2 separate regions of the Homo sapiens genome follow, and region 2 is linked to region 1. Evidence: promoter capture Hi-C in 16 types of primary human blood cells and fetal thymus (Javierre and others, 2016). All regions are on one chromosome and are shown on one strand. Each heading gives the region's core, a stretch centred on a gene start or on the middle of the fragment in contact. The rest is flanking DNA. Distances are from core to core; before and after follow the strand shown.

Region 1 (4,923 bases), core at 674-3,173:
GTGGCAGGAGAATCGCTTGAACCCGGGAGGCAGAAGTTGCGGTGAGCCAGTGATTGTGCCATTGCACTCCAGCCTGGGCAACAAGAGCGAAACCCCATCTCAAAAAAAAAAAAAAAAAAAAAAAAAAAAGAAGAAGAAGAAAAAAAGAATTGTCAGAGTTGATGAAAGAGGGCTGGACCCTTATCAAATGCCTCCCCCACACCTGCCTCCACTCTCCCCACTCACCCACTTCTCATTGATCAGACACTGGATGTGGGCCATCTTGGGAGGGGACTTGGAGTGAACTGGCTCTCTTCAGCAGAGGAAATCCCCTAAGTGGCTGACACTTGAAGGCTATCTGCCATTGCCACCCATTGCCACTCCCTGAAGCTGGTGGGCACAGTGTCTCTCACAATAGTAGCTCAGGGTACACGCTATGAAGAGGAGGAGCCAAGACTCTAATCTTGGCACTCTTGATTCTGAAGCCTGATCAATACTAATCATTAATGACCTATTGCTTCTTTTCAAATATTTATAATGTTGATGGAGATGAGGGAAATGGAACAGAAATGCAAGGTGCGGGAGGGTAGACAACTTTAGTTCTGCAAATCAATTTAGGACATGTGCTCCTCTCCACATTTCCTTTCTTTTTTTTTTTTTTTTTTTTTTGAGACAGAGTTTCGCTCTCGTTGCCCAGGCTGGAGTGCAATGGCATGATCTCGGCTCACCACAACCTCTGCCTCTCAGGTTCAAACGATTCTCCTGCCTCAGCCTCCCGAGTAGCTGGGATTACAAGCATGCGGCACCACGCCCGGCTAATTTTTTTTTTTTTGAGACGGAGTGTCACTCTGTCACCCAGGCTGGAGTGCAGTGGCATGATCTCAGCTCACTGCAACCTCCACCTCCCGGGTTCAAGTGATTCTCCTACCTCAGCCTCCCGAGTAGCTGGGACTACAGGAGTGTGCCACCACGCTCAGCTAATTTTTGTATTTTTAATAGAGACAGGGTTTCACCATATTGGCCAGGCTGGTCTTGAACTCCTGACCTCATGATCTGCCCACCTCTGCCTCCCAAAGTGCTGGGATTGCAGGTGTGAGCCACTGTGCCTGGTCTCTTTTTTTTTTTTTTTTTTGTATTTTTAGTAGAGACGGGGTTTCTCCATGTTGGTCAGGCTGGTCTCGAATTCTCGACCTCAGGTGATCTGCCCGCCTCGGCCTCCCAAAGTGCTGGGATTACAGGCATGAGCCACCGCGCCCGGCCTCCTCTCTGCATTTCAAGGTGTTGAGGGTGGAGTGGTTCATACAACTGACCCTTGGGGAAAAAATAAAGCATCAACTCTTGTCTTCCCTTTGTTCTTGCTGTAGTTTTCAGTGCCCATCAGCCCACATGTGCCCTGCCCTTATACCTTCACCTGAGCCAGTCCCCTGGACCCCAACATTCTTGACAAGAAATCAACCTGAATAGGCCCCACAAGTCACCTTGCTCAACTGCTATCGCAAATGGGAAACTCGAAGCCCCCAGAAGCAGTGATGGGGAGGGGTCCTGCTCTCTCCCAATACCCCAACTTCCCTTACGGCTCACCTCCCATGGCTGTCCTTGTGGAAGTCCAGTGAAAATCCAAACTGGCTGCCATTGGGGCCTGCATAGAAGGTGAGCTGCACTGGGTCCAGGTTCAAGGCCCAGGCTGGAGGGGCAGCACAAGGTCCCAAGAGCAGCAGCACCCACTCCAGAAGCCAGAGGGCTTGCAGTGGACACAAAGCTCTGGCCATCTTCCTTCTTCCACAACCTCCCAGGCAGGAATGGGCCAGCTCCTCCTCCTTCCCTTCAGATTCCTCCACAGGAAGTCTTTTCTTATCAAACTGGAACCCCAAGTAACTTGCTGAGCAACGGGCAGAGCAAAGGGCTATAGCCCCTGGACTCATGGTGGCTAGAATTGCCAGGAAGTGGGTGAGGCCACCCAGAGGGTGGATGCTCATGGCTGAAAGCCATGACTCCTCCCCTTTCCTGAGAATAGTTTATTACCATGTCCTATTGGTTCTGCCTATCAATGATGTCTCTTGAATCTTTACCCCATCTCTACTACCACCGTGCTAGTCCAAGCCACCATCACTTTCTGCTTGGGATAGCGTGATTGTGAACTGGTCCATACTTGTCTACTCTAGCCTACAGTTCTAATCTCCTCCCTTCCCCCATCTGGCTGTACAGCTGTGGTGCTTTGTGACTTGGCCACAGGTCGGGGAAGGAGAAGGAAGCTGCTGCCCCCGATAAAACCTGAGGCTTCTGTATCTTTTTGGATATGGCATTTACCCACTTCCTCCTTCTAGGACCTTGGGCGGCCTCAACCAGCCATATTGGTGCAGCAGCTTCCTCACTCCTCCTCCGTCTTGAGCCAAGCTTTAGTGTGGCCACAGCAGTGCAGTCAGTGCTGGGGACAGGGTGGTGAATGGACCTTGGTCTAGGTGGCAAGGAGATTGGGGATAAAGTGGAGTTATTCCAGGGAATTTTGACTCACAGTTTCTGAGATTATGCATTAGCTGTTCAGTTGAAGGTAGGCCCTCAATCCTTTTTGGGTGATGGAGCTCTTTAACCATTAAGACTTGATTCTGGTTGGGGGCTTTGCCTAGGGGAGCCTTCCCTGACTCCTCAGGCTGGCCGCGTGGGCTAACACACGTAGGCACAGCATTGAGCACACTGTTTACTCTTGGTCCGTTCACAGGATTGTGTAAATGAGTCCCTTGGGAGCAAGGCTCCTTGCTACAGCCCTAGAGACTACCCAAGAGTCCAATGTGTAGTACGTGTATTGCTGAAAGACTGGATGGAAACACACACTAAGGATGGAAGATGCAAACATAGGGTGACAAAGTGAAGGGATGAGTTTTGAGCAGAAAGGCAAAGTCATTTTCTCTCGGTAAGCGGAAGAGGAGGAGTGCCAAGTCTTACTGGCACTCATGCCTTCCCAAAAAAGCAGGTTCTCAGGAAGATTTAAGAGGTCCGCTAGGGGTAACCATAGCCACATTTTCCTTTTGATTTCTATTTTCTGATCAAACTTAACCATTGCCGTATCCTGCTCAACCACCCTGTACCATTTTGAAGTCCCCTCGTAATTTACTACCTCAGCCTAGAGTTAAGAATCTTATCCTTTATAGGACAGGAAGCTAAAAGCCTGAACTTTGGTCTGGGCCTTCTTCATTGCTGAGTTCCCAGTGTCAAGTACATGGGAGGCGTGTAATTAATGTATTTGCTTGAACGAATACTTAACCCAGTCCTCTACTTACCTTCTATCCTCCCACTGTCCTCAGGTGAGTGATTGCTGTATTACTGGTGTATTCTGTGAGGCCAAATATGAACTTACATTTCACTCAAGTTTTCAATAAGTATTTACTCTGTTCAAGGCACTGTGTTGATAAAGGATACAAAGATAACCATTAGGCCAGGTATAGTGGCTCATGCCTGTAATCCCAGCACTTTGGGAGGCTGAGGCAGGAGGATGGCTTGAGCTCAGGCATTTAAGACCAGCCTAGGCAATACAGTGAGACCTCGTCTCTATTTTAAAATTATAAAAAATAAAATATTTTAAAAACTCCAAAGATAGCCATCAAGGAGACTTAACAAACAGCCCAGAAAGAGTTAAGACATGAACACACATAACTGCAGCAGAGAGACAGTCAAGCATGCCTTGAAAAATACACAGATTATCAAAGTCGTATATCATTGTTACTCATAACAACCCTAGGAAATAAGTACTATTATGCCCATTTTATAAACACAAAACTGTGGCACAAGAGTTTTAGGTAAATTGCCCATGTTTACGCAGCCAACAGATGGCAAAACTAAGATTCAAACATGGGTTGCACTTGAACTCATGTTCAAGTTGCCTTTTGTCAGAGAATGAAAGGGTTTTTAGGCATAGAGAATACATGAGAGCAGCAAAGGAACACAGAGGTAGGGAAGGACAAGTAGTTGACTCAGCATAGCAGAATGCTTAAAGGGTTGGACTGAGGCGCAAGGGGGTAAAGCTTGGGGATTCAAATTACTGGAGGTCCTTGAATGCCATATTAAGGAATCTGAACTTTAATCCATGGGGGATGGAAAATCATAAAGATTTTAGCCGGGCATGGTGGCTCATGCCTGTAATCCCAGCACTTTGGGAGGCCCAGGCGAGTGGACCACAAGGTCAGGAGTTTGAGACCAGCCTGGCCAACCTAGTGAAACCCCGTCTCTACTAAAAATACAAAAATTAGCTGGGCGTGGTGGTGTGTGTCTGTAATCCCAGCTACTTGGGAGGCTGAGGCAAAAGAATTGCTTGAACCTGTGAGGCGGAGGTGGCAGTGAGCTAAGATCATGCCACTGCACTCCAGCCTGGGCGACAGAGTGAGACTCCATCAAAAAAGAAAAAAAGAAAGAAAGAAAAGAAAAATAAAATTATAAAGATTTTTTACACCAGGTTTGGTGGCTCATGCCTGTAACCCTAGCACTTTGGGAGGCCAAGATGAGGATTGCTTGAAGCCAGGTGTTTGGGACCAGCCTGGGCAACATAGTGAGACCCTGTCTCTACAAAAAAATTAAAATTAGCCAGGCACGGTAGTGCACACCTGTAGTTCCAGCTACTGAGGAGGCCGAGGCAGGAGAATCACTTGAGCCCACGAGTTTTAGGTTACAGTGCACTACGATTTTGCCACTCCACTCCAGCCTGGGCAAGAGTAAGACTATGCCTAAAAAACAATTTTTTTTTTTTTTTTTTTTTTTTTTGCTGGGCATGGTGGCTCACACCTGTAATCTCCCAACACTTTGGGAGGCCAAGGTGGGCGGATCGCTTGAGGCCAGGAGTTTGAGATCAGCCTGGCCAACATGGCAAAACCCTGTCTCTACTAAAAATACAAAAATTAGCCGGGTGTGGTGGTGCACACCTATAATCTCAGCTGCTTGGGAGGCTGAGGAAGAATT
Region 2 (4,923 bases), core at 1,598-4,097, 110 kb after region 1:
TAAAATAAAATTTATCTTTGCAGCCCTAGTCTTCACTTTTTCCCTATGCCCAATCATTAATTCATTGTCCTAAAAAAACAAATTCTGTTTGTTCCACTTCTTTACTTTTGTCCTGGCTATTTTTTCCAACTGAGTGTACTTCCATTCACTTGAAGGATGCAATCCCATCCTTCAAGATCCAGCTTAAATGCTAACTTCTTCATAAAAGCATGCCCAGGCCAACACGGTGGCTCACACCTGTAATCCCAGCACATTGGGAGGCCAAGGCGGGCAGATCACTGGAGGTGGGAGTTCAAGACCAGCCTGACCTACATGATGAAACCCCATCTCTACTAAAAATACAAAAATTAGCCAGGCGTGGTAGTGGGCACCTGTAATCCCAGTTACTCGTGAGGCTGAGCCACGAGAATTGCTTGAACCCAGGAGGTGGAGGTTGCAGTGAGCTGAGATCATGCCACTGCATTCTAGCCTGGGCAACAGAGCAAGACTCTGTCTGAAAAAAATAAAATAAAATAAAAGCATGTCCAATCATCCCACTTTAAGGATTCTCTCCTTTACTTAGAGTTATGCATTTATTAGCTATACTGTTTTTCTGATAATCATGCTGGTTTTTCTGATAATCATGCTGGTCTTATGAATAATAAACTAAACCTTACTACTTATGTTATCTCTCCAACTAAAATGAAAACTCCTTGAAAACAAAAACACTTCTTAACAAACTACCCGCACAGAAATACTTACACTACAATACGTACTTCTTCGTACAACCACTATTCAAACACTGTTTTATTTAATTAAGTTTTCAAAAATTAGTCTATATTCTAGAAACTATTCTAAAGGTAAATATACCCCTTGTTATTGCTCGCACAGATGATACCCTAGTACAATATTAAACCAATTAAATTTTCAACCACTTTTGCCCTTTCTTTAAAGATACCTCATAATTTCACTCATAGCTCTATTCATAGCAACAAGGGAAATTACTGACACTACAGCATACAATCCACAAGCATTAGCTTTAATTTCTTTTTTTGTTTTGTTTGGTTTTGAGATGGAGTCTCACTCTGTTACCCAGGCTGGAGTGCAATGGCACAGTATCGGCTCACTGCAACCTCCACCTCCCAGGTTCAAGAGATTCTCCTGCCCCAGCCTCCTGAGTAGCTGGGACTACAGGAGCGCACCACCACACCCAACTAATTTTTTGTATTTTTAGTAGAGATGGGTTTTCACCATGTTGGCCAGGCTGGTCTCGAACTCCTGACCCCGTGTGATCCACCTGCCCTCAGCCTCCCAAAATGCCGGGATTATAGGCGTGAGCCACCGCGCCCAGCCTACCTTTACTTCTTCTATAGTCAAGACCTACAGTATCAAAATAATTTCTTGATTTTGATCAGCACTGCCTACAAAAATGATGAAAAAGTAAGCTCCTCTTTTCTTATTAACTCTGGAAGAATAATGTTATGGGGGCTATAAGACAGGTACTGACTTTTCCAACAATGTCATTATTAAAATGTCAGAAAACTCTATGACTTTTTTCTATTACAACTTTAAACCTGTAAAGCTATTTTGTGTCTCAATTCTATGAAACAGTAAGATGAATTAGAATTCCTCTTTGAAATCAATGTAATTACCAAAGAGTCACAAGGATGACAACAAACAACTGGAACTTCATGAGATGAGACCAAATGCGTATTACAAAGACACTTTCTGGTTGCTTGAGTGACACGCACACAGGAATTATTGTACCTCAAAACTATCACAAGAAGAATTAAAGCAAATGGCAGGATACTCCTGTTTTGCTCACTAACAACTTTTATTCCTTACTATCTATGGGGCTTACTAAATAACAGTTACGTGCTACTCATCTGTGTACAATGTCAGAACAACTTTAGTTGCTTTTTCTTCCTAAATTAGGAATAAAATACTAAACATATTTGTTTAAATTCCAAAGAAATCATTTGGTATAAGAACGACCATACATTATACACCTTCTTTCAGCCTGGGCATATTTAACTTTTTGCATTGACTAATACGATATGCATTAAGCACATTTGCTTAGACCTCCAGAGTTAAATGGACAATTCACTTTTTATAAGTGGAAAATTATTACAACATCTTCTGGTATTCACTGCAATATCAAATCAATGACTTCTTTCAGTATTTGTGGTGGTCATCTGTAATTCCTTTGGTAATTACCATGAATCTGCTTTCACTTAATGCTAAATGGTAATGCTAATATGAAAAGAAAATTAATGCCAGACTTACAAGCAAAAGTACCAAGTTGTTTCAGGGAAGGAATTTTAATAGAACTCACGAACTGGAATCTATCTACTTCAAGCTAGAAACCATTTTCATTAATAAAATACTAGAAACTAAGTCACAAGAGCAAAAATGAAAACTTTACATAGGTTTCTGATTCATAATTAAGATCTCATGAACTTCTGCTACGCTTTCAGAAAATGGCAATCTTGGCCAGGTACAGTGGCACATGCCTGTAATCTCAACACTTTGAGGGGCCGAGGTGGGAGGATAGCTTGAGCTCAGGAGTTTGAGACCAGCCTGGGCAACATGGAGAAACCCCATCTCTACAAAAATGAAAAAAATTAGCAGGGCTTGGTGACACACCTGTAGCCCCAGGTACTCAGGAGGCTGAGGTGGGAGGATCACTTGAAGCTGGGAGGTCAAGGCTGCCAGGAGCCATGATCGCGTCACTGCACTCCAGCCTGAGTGACAGAGTGAGACCTTGTCTCAAAAACGAATTTTTTATTTAAAAAAATTAAATTTAAAAAAGTCTTGACCACATCAAAAAAACAGACTGTCAGCTGGGTGCAGTGGTGCATGCCTGTAATCCCAGCACTTTGGGGGGCTGAGGTGGGAGGATCGCTTGAGCCCAGGAGTTCAAGACCAGCCTGGGCAACAAGTTGAAACCCCGTCTCTAAAAAAAGTACAAAACTTAGCCAGTCATGGTGGTACATTCCTGTAGTCCCAGCTACTTGGGAGGCTGAAGCGGGAGGATTGCTTGAGCCCAGGAGGTGGAGACTGCATGAGCCAAGATCCCACAACTGTACTCTAGCCTGGACAAAAGAGCCAGACACTGTCTCCAAAAAAAAAAGAAAAAAAGAAAAGAAAAACAGACTGTCCTTTTAAAAATTTTTATCATGTACCCAGATAGACAGAAATCACATGGAAATGTATCTCAATTATGAAGCAGCACAATCAGGATAGCTTATTACATATGTATCTTGAAATATTTTTAAGTCACAAATTTTAGCTTTGGTTATACAATTTATCATAAAGACATGAGAAACTGTGATGAAAGAATCCCTTTGCAGTACTCTAATGAGAACTGTGTTACATGTATAGAAGAAAGGGAAAGGTACAACAGGAGTACCTGTTTTTCTATCATTTTGACTGTATTGTAAGAGCCCTGAAATAATACTCGGCATAATACTCTATTTGTCCAGATCTGTTTCTTCCTGCCTCCCATGCCTACTTTGAAAACAAATAATATACATCATCACATGAAGTCCTCTGATCACAGTTCTTCCCAACCCCAATCTTTCCTAATTACAACTTAAGTCTCTCTCTGTGATGTTGAGATGTCCTTGATATGTCCCACATTTGAAAAGTGATTATATACCATTTACCCTTCAAATCACCTCCAGGGAAACTTCTCTTATGCTGACTTTACTTTGGTCACTCTCGATCTCCTAAGAATGTATTAACCAATGTCAATATCATTTTGCATTTGCTAACAATCATGTCAATTCAGCATCAGTATTTTGAAACTGGTACAGCCCTGATTCTAATCCTTTTCACTTATCATACTATGAGACAGGGAAGAGTAATGATTTTGTATAAATTTCAGTATCCCAAGCCAAACTGACATTAATTTTCACAGCTTGTGGCATTTCTTCCAGATTACGGGAGCGAGACATAGGAAAAACGATTTAAAACACTTGTCCATGTGTCATATCTGGCATACCTGAATTACAATGCCAACTATATTACATACAGAAAATACACTAATATGCTTCTGTGACTTAAATATCTTAAAACTATGAACCTCTTCACTTAATAGTCTCAACTAAGAATTTCCTAAGGGTCACATACTGGTTACATATGGAAACACAAAGAGGATTCCTACAAACATACTGCATAAATGTAATACATGACTAGCTTATTGCTATTTACCATTATGATTACTTACATAGATTACAGAAAGTTCTTGGGCAATTTCTGTATTTTTATTACGACCTTTAACATAGCATGTCTTGTTTCTCTTATCAACTTATCACTCACTGATCTATTACTGTAGTTCCTTTTCATTAGAAATAAAATGCAGAGGGCCAGGCGCGGTGGCTCAAGCCTGTAATCCCAGCACTTTGGGAGACCGAGGTGGGTGGATCACCTGAGGTCGGGAGTTTGAGACCAGCCTGACCAACAGGGTGAAACCCCGTCTCTACTAAAAAATACAAAAAAATTAGCTGGACATGGTGGGACATGCCTGAAATCCCAGCTACTCGGGAGGCTGAGGCAGGAGAATCACTTGAACCCGGGAGGCGGAGGTTGAGGTGAGCCAAGATGGTGCCATTGCACTCCAGGTGGGCAACAAGAGCGAAACTCCATCTCAAAAAAATAAATAAATAAATAAAATGCAGAGAACACTCGGAACACGAATCATCAGTCCTCTGCAGGTACATATACTAAAGAACATTTCCTCACCAGCATTCAGCTGCATCACCAATAATAGCTGCGCAACCATAAAATGCTAAGCACTGTTTCTTAATGGCACCGTATAGCTAGCTGTACATCACTGTACAAACAAAACTTTCTTTAATGAACCTGTAATCCAAAGTGTTGATTATCTTAAGTTATACATTTTCCATTAGTTTGTGTAACACTTCAATTTGGGAACAAATA

What was found. Contacts are between HindIII fragments. The CHiCAGO score rates a contact against its expected background, and 5 or more counts as called.
Region 2: a fragment that was not itself captured here is called in contact with the fragment with the promoter of ITGA2B in region 1 in 1 of 17 cell types (megakaryocytes); the score reaches 8.7 in megakaryocytes.

The regions. Positions count from the first base shown.
Region 1 is chr17:44,387,726-44,392,648 of GRCh38, forward strand. ITGA2B (integrin subunit alpha 2b) reads right to left here and starts at 1,924. Exons shown (of 30, transcript NM_000419.5): 1 at 1,561-1,924. The coding sequence starts at 1,748. RefSeq lists an enhancer at 2,081-2,140. The HindIII fragment of the contact is 14,706 bases long and covers 1-2,371 here.
Region 2 is chr17:44,494,838-44,499,760 of GRCh38, forward strand. The region is part of intron 1 of GPATCH8 (G-patch domain containing 8); the gene reads right to left. Among named protein-coding and RNA genes, the nearest start is that of GPATCH8, 6.1 kb to the right of the region's middle. The HindIII fragment of the contact is 9,814 bases long and covers 1-4,923 here.